Regions from separate parts of the Homo sapiens genome. Here region 1 is linked to region 2. Evidence: promoter capture Hi-C in human tissues and cell types (Jung and others, 2019). All regions are on one chromosome and are shown on one strand. The core of a region is centred on a gene start or on the middle of the fragment in contact, and the rest is flanking DNA. Distances in the headings are between cores, read along the strand shown. Region 1 holds the start of TOR1B (torsin family 1 member B). Region 2 holds the start of CRAT (carnitine O-acetyltransferase).

Region 1 (4,039 bases), core at 842-3,341, 690 kb after region 2:
CCCCACCCACAGGCCTCTGTGCATCCTGCATTACAGCCTTGGCCCACCCTGGACATAAGCTGCCTGCTTGCTCATCTGTCTCCCTGACTAGTTACCTGGACCACGGCAACAGCCTCTTCACTGGCTCTCTGCCTTCCATTTCTTGTGAACCCAGCAGCCAGAATGATCTCTGATCTGACCATGTTGCTTCCTGTGTAAAACCCTCTGTGGCTCCCTATTACCCCCCAGAACAGAGGCCAAACTCCTTACAACATTCGCAAGGACTTCACCTTCCAGTCTCTGCCTGATTCTTCATCCCTATCTCTCACCACCTTCCGCCATGTGGAATCCTTTCAGTTCTCCAAACTGACTGTTGTTTTCTGCCTAAAACACTCTACTCATTTTTTGCCTGGCCTAACTCCCTCAGTGCCCAGCTTAGACAAAAGCCTTCCCTGTACCACTGTCCGATACTTCTCTGCCCACTCAGCATTGAGTCTCACCCCTTTGTCGGCCTCCCCCATAGACCGTCAGCTCTGAGAGGGCAGGGGCCAACTCCGTCCCCTCCTCTGCTGTCGTTCCTGGCATCCAGCAAGGGGCCTGCCACCTAGCGTGCTGAATGAAAGAATGGACCTCGGGATTTCAGTGTGGAAGCCTGGGCAGGTCTGTCTTGGGGCCGCTGCATCCCCAGTGCTCAGTCTAGGGCGCAGCACGGAGAGTTCGCAACTGTTTCAGGAAGAAGGCAGGCGGGTGGGCCGACCCAAGAAACGCACATTATACCTCCGGCGAAGTGAAGGGAGGGATAACAAAGCAAAGCTTGAGGGCTCCGAGAAGCTCTGAAGAAAACAAATCCAGCCATAAGCCCACTCCTGTAACCCCAGGCTTTGGAAGACGGAGGCAGGTAGATCGCTTGAGGTCAGGAGTTCGAGACCAGCTTGGGCCACATGGCGAAACCCCGTCTCTACTAAAAACACAAAAGTTGGCTGGGCGTGTTGGCGGGCACCTATAATCCCAGCTACTCCAGCAGCTGAGATGGGAGAATCGCTTGAACCTGGGAGGAAGAGTTTGCAGCGAGCCGAGATCCTGCCACTGCGCTCCAGCCGGGGCGACAGAGCCAGACCCTGTCCCCAATATACATATCAGATAAGAAAAAAATATAAGAAAGTTTAAAAAAATTTTTTTTGGCTTTTTTTTGTTTTTTTTGAGACGGAGTCTCGCTCTGTCGTCCAGGCTGGAGTGCAGTGGCACGATCTCGGCTCACTGCAAGCTCCGCCTCCCAGGTTCACGCCATTCTCCTGCCTCAGCCTCCCGAGTAGCTGGGACTACAGGCGCCCGCCACCATGCCCGGCTGATTTTTTCTATTTTTCGTAGTGATGGGATTTCACTGTGTTAGCCAGGATGGTCTTGATCTCCTGACCTCGTGATCCGCCTGCCTCGGCCTCCCAAAGTGCTGGGATTACAGGCGTGAGCCGCCGCGCCCGGCCAGCCTTTTTTTTTTTTTTTGAGACAGTTTCGCTCTTGTCGCCCAGGCTGGAGTGCAGTGGCACGATCTCGGCTAACTGCAACCTCCGCCTCCTGGGTTCAAGAGATTCTCCTGCCTCAACCTCCCGAGTAGCTGGGATTACAGGCGCCCGCCACCACACCCATCTAATTTTTTGTATTTTTAGTAGAGACGGGGTTTCGCCACGTTGAGCAGGCTGGTCTCGAACTCCTGACATCAGGTGATCCGCCCGCTTCAGCTTCCCAAAGTGCTGGGATTACAGGCGTGAGCCACGGCGCCCGGCCAAAAAAAAAAAATTTTTTTTTTTTTTTTTAGATATTTTTTCACTCTTGTTGCCCAGGCTGGAGTGCAATGGCGTGATCTCGGCTCGGCCTCCCAAAGTCCTGGGATTACAGGCGTGAGCCACCGCGCCCGGCCCGAAAAAATTTTTTTAAAAGAAAAGGGAAACAAAACAGTCTCCTACACCTTCGGACCACTCCCAAGAACGATGGCACCGCCCTCCTCTCCGCCCCTCACCAACATGGCCGCCCCCAAGGGAGTGGGCGGGTCTGCGGGGCGGAAGTGACGCACGAGAGGAAGTCCGTCCTGCCGCTTGGCCGCGGGGCGCCTGGCTCAGTGGCTTCTGCGGGCTTCGAGGAGCGGGATGTTGCGGGCTGGGTGGCTCCGGGGCGCGGCGGCGCTGGCGCTGCTGCTGGCGGCCCGAGTGGTGGCGGCGTTCGAGCCCATCACCGTGGGCCTAGCCATCGGGGCCGCGTCGGCCATCACCGGCTACCTGTCCTACAATGACATCTACTGCCGCTTCGCCGAGTGCTGCCGCGAGGAGCGGCCGCTCAACGCTTCGGGTACGGCGCGCGCGCGAGCTGTGGGTCGGCGCTGCGGGGGGCGCGGGGGCGCGGGGGCGCGGAGGGACGGCCTCGTGGGCGCCTGGCACGGACCGGGCCCGTGGCATCTAGACGGCGGTGGTCCCAGCTGGGGTGGGCGGGGAGCGGATGGGGCGGCCCCGGAACCGTTCGCGGGAACGCAGAAGCGGTGCCTTCGCAAACAGTCTCCAGATCGTGGGGCTGCCCCAGCGCCTTTCTAAAGCTCCCGTTCCTTGGGATCACAGGTGGAAGAAACGGAAAGTAGGCGGGCGGCCCTTCTGCGCCCTGCCAACCCTATTAAGTAGTTTTCAGACGTGCTGCGTCGCCCAGAAAGCCCACATTTGGCCCCTGGTTTTCCTGCAGGTCAGCAAGGGTGGCTGGGATTAGCAAGCGCTCAGTCAAGCGATGGTTCATCTCTGAATGAATGAACATTTAGCTTCCTTATCAGACCCCGAAGCGTTAAGGACCTCCACATAATCTTGAAAGTGGCATCGTTTGACTGCCTCGGCCCTAGGGTGTGGCAGACACCCTGCTGTGTCCCTGGATAATCTGTGCTTCTTGCTTTGGCCAGCTAAGAAAGTGCTGCGTTGCTGATGCATTTTTAAGGTCTGTTTCTCTCTTTGTTCTGGGGCTGTTCTTGCAGCTCTCAAGCTGGATTTGGAGGAGAAGCTGTTTGGACAGCATCTAGCCACGGAAGTGATTTTCAAGGCGCTGACTGGCTTCAGGAACAACAAAAATCCCAAGAAACCACTGACCCTTTCCTTACACGGCTGGGCTGGCACAGGCAAGAATTTTGTCAGTCAAATTGTGGCTGAAAATCTTCACCCAAAAGGTCTGAAGAGTAACTTTGTCCACCTGTTTGTATCGACTCTGCACTTCCCTCATGAGCAGAAGATAAAACTGTACCAGGCAAGAGAACCCGCTATTATCTCGTCTGCAGGCCAGTCGGACTGGTCCGGGTGACCTGCTCACTAACTCTGGCCTCTGCTTCTCTTTCCTTTGTGTTGCTGTAGCCCCCGGCTCCACTGAGTTAAGGCACACTTAGTCCAGGTAGTTACAAAGCTCTCCTACAACATTTCTCTTACTTGGTTCCAAAACAGTCCAGTGGGGTAGGGGATGTTATTTCCATTAAAAGATGGGGAGCCAAGGGCCTGGCGCCGTGGCTCACGCCTGTAATCCCAGCATTTTGGGGAAGCCGAGGCGGGCGGATCATTTGAGGCCAGGAGTTTGAGACCAGCCTGGCCAACATGGTGAAACCCCATCTCTACCTAAAAGTACCAAAATTACCTGAGCACGGTGGCACGCACCTGTAATCCCAGCTACTTGGGAGGCTGAGGCAGGAGAATCGCTTGAACCTGGGTGGCAGAGGTTGCAGTGAGCTGAGATCGCGCCACCGTACTCGGTCTCAAAAAAAAAAAAAAAAAAAAGGCCTGGCACAGTGGCTCACGCCTGTAATCCCAGCACTTTCGGAGGCCGAGGGGGGCGGATCACGAGGTCAGGAGATGGAGACCATCCTGGCTAACACGGTGAGACCCCGTCTCTACTAAAAATACAAAAAATTAGCCGGGGATGGTGGCGGGCACCTGTTGTCCCAGCTACTCGGGAGGCTGAGGCAGGAGAATGGCCTGAACCCGGGAGGCGGAGCTTGCACTGAGCCGAGATCGCGCCACTGCACTCCAGCCTGGGCGACACAGTGAGACTC
Region 2 (4,671 bases), core at 895-3,394:
GAGGCGGCAGAGAGAGAAAGAGAAAGTCCAGGAGGCCCTGGAGTGGGCAGAGACAGGAGGGCCCGAGGCTGCTCTTGCAGTGGGCAGGCGAGTGGCAGGAGCTCTGTTCCATACCTTCTCTCTCTGCTGCCCGTCCTCCTCCATGGCAGGACTGAGGTTCTGGGCCCTGTCTGTCTGCCTTGGCTGGATCTCTAAGCCTAACTGTGCTACAAAGTGAGTGAGCAGAACCTAGCCAGAGGCAGCCACTTGCCTGGGCTGGAAAGAGAAGACAAGAGCCAAGATTCAGCGGGAGGCAGGTGGCAGTGGCGATGGCTGTGGTGGAATCGGGGGTTGTGGCAGTGGCAGGGGAAGCTCCTGGACTCTAGAAGCTGCTCCACCCTCCCGAGCTCCCAGAAGTAGAGGAATGGGGAGCAGGTGAGAGGGCTAGTGGGGGGGCATTCCAGTAGAAGGGAACCTGGAAAGTTCTTTCCTTTCTTCTCTGCATGGGCTCAGTGCCAGGGAGTCAGGACAAAAGGTAATAAAAAATCCACCTGTCAGAATCTGCGAAGATCGTTTTGATGAGGGAAAACTTGGCTGGAGGACAGAGACTGCCTGGCCGCTGAGGTTACACCACAGCCCTGGGATCGGTCCTGAAATTAGGGTTGGTGCAAGGGAGCAGACACCAGGAAAAGGCCATCAGTGGATGGGACAGCCAGAAGCCCTGCCTATTTCCTGTTTCTCTCCAGGACTCCTGGGACCCATCTGAGCCATCCCTCTACGAACACTCATTTTTTCCTGAGCTGTGGCTCATTCAGCTAGGGTCCAAGAGCGGAGGACTTTTGGTATGAAAAATAAACCAAAGGACACTGGGATTGGGCTGGATTTGAATGAGCAGGTCCAGGGGACTCTGGGCAAGTCCCTCCTTGCCTCAGTTTCCCTGCAGGAAGGTAACCAGTCCAGTCGGATGGTCCTGGAGGATGATCTAGAGGCTGTTTGTGGGATGGATGCAGCTTGGGAGACAGTGACAAGGGTGCGGTGGAGGCTCAGGGTGTTGCAACACCTAAAAGAGCCTCTAGGCCTGAGCCTGGATGCACCCTCCGCCCTCTGGCCCCGTAGTGTGTGTCTGAGACAGAGTGAGACACCAGCAACATATGCTTGGATCAGGGACGGAAGGGACTGAAATTAGGCTAGCATCCGGGCTGCTCACCGGGGAGGACTGAGGGGTAGATATAGCCAGGGTGGGGAAGGGGGCTAGAGGGGAGGATATAGCCAGGGTGGGGAAGGGGGCTGGAGGGAAGGATACAGCCAGGGTGGGGAAGGGGGCTGGAGGGGAGGGAGACCATGGGGCTGCCACCTGCCAGTTCTGAGGCCTTTCTAGCTTGATGCCTCCGCGTGTTTCTCTGGCCACACACAATTCCCCAGGGACCGTCTGATAAACCAAAGGAGTGTGACCAACTGGACAGGGTCGGAGGAGTGGCTCTGGCCTAAGCGTGCGACGGGTGTGTCAATCGGAGAATAACTGGGAGAGTGAGCTAGGGTCTGGATGCTCCTGGTCTCTCTCCCCTACCGGCCTGTCTCTGGGTCTAAGGGTGGGGGTGCTAACTGAAGCCGGGGTCCCCCTTGTCTTTCCTGGGTCGTTGGAACTGAATGCTCCAGGACGTGGGTTTAATCCCGCTTCTGACCTTGCGCCCCAATCTCCTGCTCTGCCAAACCTGGGACGCCCGCCTGACCCCACCCCATCAGCTGGAGGCCGGGTCGAACAGCGGCCGCAGGACGCGGTCTCCGTTCCCGGACGCAACCGCACGGCCCGCCCAGGCCGTCCAGGGCCCTCAGGCCCGGGATCCGCCGCACTCACCACGGTCCTGGCAGCGAAGGCTAACATCTTCGCTGCCCGTCCGCGGACACGCAGTCCGCTCCGCCCCACACACCGGGCAAAGTCCGCGCCGCCGCCGCCGCGGCTGGGGTCGGTGGGTCCTTGCTAGAGCCTTCGGGCCAAGGTCGCTGAGTTACAGCCGCCAGCCGGTAGAGGCAGCCCCGCGCCCACCCTCTGGGCCGAGCGGGCTGCGGGAAGGCACCCGGGGAGGAGGACTCGCGAGGCGGGGCCTGGGCCGGTAGCGGGCCCCGGGCGGGCAACGGTGCCCGGGAGGTTGGCTGTGGGGCGGGGACGGGGCATCGATGGGGCGGAGTCTCCTTGAGGAGGGACAGGAGGGGCGGGGACGGAGGGGCGGGGCGTCGCCCGGTAGCGGGTCGCAGTAGGCTGGCTGCGAGTCGGGGGCGGGACCACGGCGGGCGGGGACAGAGGGGCAGGGCCGAGGGCGAGTCATTGAGACCTGTGGAGGAGGAAGGAGGAGGTCACCGTCCAGCTGTCTCTCCCCTGTCCCCACATGTCTTCTAAGCTGTTGGAGGTAGTGGTGTGCACCTTTCCAACTCCGTCTGGTGTCCTTGAGCCTAACTCTTAGAGTGATAGGAAAACACAACCATGTTGACCGGGGAATGTCCTCTAATATTCCTTGGGTTAGGGTCAGTACCACCCACAAAGATGACAGGTGGTACTCCGGGACAGGAGACTGTCCCGGAAAAACATGGCTGAGCACAACCCAAACTTGACGCCCCGCACAATCGTGGCAGTCGCGGCGCCCGACGTTCGGGCGGCCGTGAGCGGTCCTAGCGCTTGGCGGCCGTTGGCGCGCATGCGCCCCGCGCGCCCCGCACTGACATGGCCGTCGCCCGGTTCCGCGCGTCCGCCGCGCGCCGGCCGTTAATAGGCTTGCTCCCTGAGCGCCCCGCACCGACATGGCGGCCGTCTTCGCTGTGGTGACTTTAACTCTCGGTTTTCGGTTATAGCCGGCCGGCGCTCACTTGTCTTCAGGAAGCTCGGAGCCTTTGGTGGAGCCGGGGAGAGGAAGGGTGGGTGCAAGAGTGAAAGGCGAGAGGGGACTGCAAGCATCCGGGTCGGCTCCTGGCCGGAGCAAGATGGCTGAGGGCGAGCGGCAGCCGCCGCCAGGTAAGGCCGGCGGGGCCAGGCCGGGCCGGGGTCGGGTAGGGTGGGGGCGGTGCCAGGTGTGGGAGGCTCAGGAGGGCGAGAGTCATGACACGGAGGAACTGGAGGGGCAAAAGCTGAGGGGCCCCGAGGAGGGACTGAGTTGAATGGCCTTAGGGGAGAGGTGGGTGGTGGGGCGCCGCTGGGGAGGGAACCAGGGGCTGCAAAGGGGTGGTGATTGGGGCGCAACTCTGGGTTTTGTGGGAGTCCAGGCTGCCCGAATGCTGGGTGGGCAGCGCCGTGGTCATAAGGGGGCCTTTTGCATCTCTGGGCAGCGCGTGCTTAAGTAAGCTGCTGACTCGGTGGGGAAGCTGCCAGGGAGGGGGGCGAAAGTGATTCCGGAGGCTGCCGTCTTTATTAGTCGCTGCTTAGGGGATGGGGTGGTGCTCCGTGGGCCTGCGCCCGCCTCGCCTCCAGTTTCGGCCTCCGCGTCCTGCTCACCCCTCATCCTCCTACTCTCTGGTTCCAGTGCCTGAGAATTTATTGAGGGAAACTGCCCGTGGTGTCTAAATCCCTAATTTTAAAAGGCTGGTTGTGCAAGGAGGTTAGTCTCTCCGGCATCTCCTTCGGTAACTCTTATTTACCTTGTAGCCTCTTTTTAGTTCATCTTAAATAACTGGGATGGAGGTGCTACGGAAGGATCTTAGAGACCCTTTTTGTGCAGAAGGAGAAGGCTGTTTGCCGACCTACCTTGAACTAAGAAGGACTGGCCATAGATAACTTTTACATTCCCGACAGAGGCAAATAGGTTGGCCGACCAAACACAGCTAATGTTTTGAAAGCATTTGATATTCTTGCTATCCTGTCTCCAATGTTGGGGTCCCTGGGAAGGTCTCAGGAGGGAGAAATGTTGAAAATCAGAAAAGGCATCCCCTCCATGCCCCACAAAAGAGGTGAACAAAGAGCTGGGTTCCGTTTCTTAGGACATTCAAAACCAGACATTTATTTTGTACAAAACCTCTGGGTGTGTGCCCTTAGAACAAGGATGTCCAGGCCAGGCGCGGTGGCTCATGCCCGTAATCCCAGCACTTTGGGAGGCCGAGGCGGGCTGATCACCTGAGGTCGGGAGTTCGAGACCAGCCTGACCAACATGGAGAAACTCCGTCTCTTCTAAAAATACAAAATTAGCCGGGCGTGGTGACACACGCCCGTAATCCCAACTACTAGGGAGGATGAGGCAGGAGAATCGCTTGAACCTGGGAAGCAGAGGTTGCGGTGAGCTGAGATCGCGGCATTGCACTCCAGCCTGGACAACAAGAGTGAAACTCCGTCACCCCCCAAAAAAAAAACCGGGGTGTCCACTCTTTTGGCTTCTCTAAGCCACATTGGAAGCAGAATTGTCTTGGGTCACACATAAAATACACTAACACTAACGATGGCTGATGAGCTAAAAAAAAAGTCGCAAAAAAAAAAATCTCATAATGGTTTTGTGTTTCTTTTTTTTGAGACAGTGTCTCACTCTGTCCCCCAGGCTGAAGTGCAGTGGCATGGTCTCGGCTGACTGCACCCTCTGCCTCCCGGGTTCAAGCGATTCTCCTGCCTCAGCCTCCTGAGTAGCTGGGACTACAGGTGCGCCACCATGCCTGGCTAATTTTTGTATTTTTAATAGGGACAGGGTTTCACCATATTGGCCAGGCTGGTCTCGAACTCCT

What was found. The method cuts DNA at HindIII sites, captures the fragments that hold promoters and counts their contacts. A contact is called where the count stands out against the background at its distance.
Region 1: a contact is called between the fragment with the promoter of TOR1B here and the fragment with the promoter of CRAT in region 2, in 6 of the 25 tissues and cell types used here (H1 embryonic stem cells, aorta, dorsolateral prefrontal cortex and 3 more).

Annotation. Positions count from the first base shown.
Region 1 is chr9:129,801,093-129,805,131 of GRCh38, forward strand. TOR1B (torsin family 1 member B) reads left to right here and starts at 2,092. Exons shown (of 5, transcript NM_014506.3): 1 at 2,092-2,319; 2 at 2,981-3,246. The coding sequence starts at 2,121. RefSeq lists silencers at 2,172-2,301, 2,362-2,481. The HindIII fragment of the contact is 20,911 bases long and covers 1-4,039 here.
Region 2 is chr9:129,108,649-129,113,319 of GRCh38, forward strand. It overlaps CRAT (carnitine O-acetyltransferase), which reads right to left and starts at 2,145. Exons shown (of 14, transcript NM_000755.5): 1 at 1,835-2,145. The coding sequence starts at 1,861. PTPA (protein phosphatase 2 phosphatase activator) reads left to right here and starts at 2,767. Exons shown (of 10, transcript NM_178000.3): 1 at 2,767-2,983. The coding sequence starts at 2,953. RefSeq lists silencers at 1,901-2,340, 3,031-3,080 and enhancers at 2,751-3,030, 2,963-3,503. The HindIII fragment of the contact is 22,449 bases long and covers 1-4,671 here.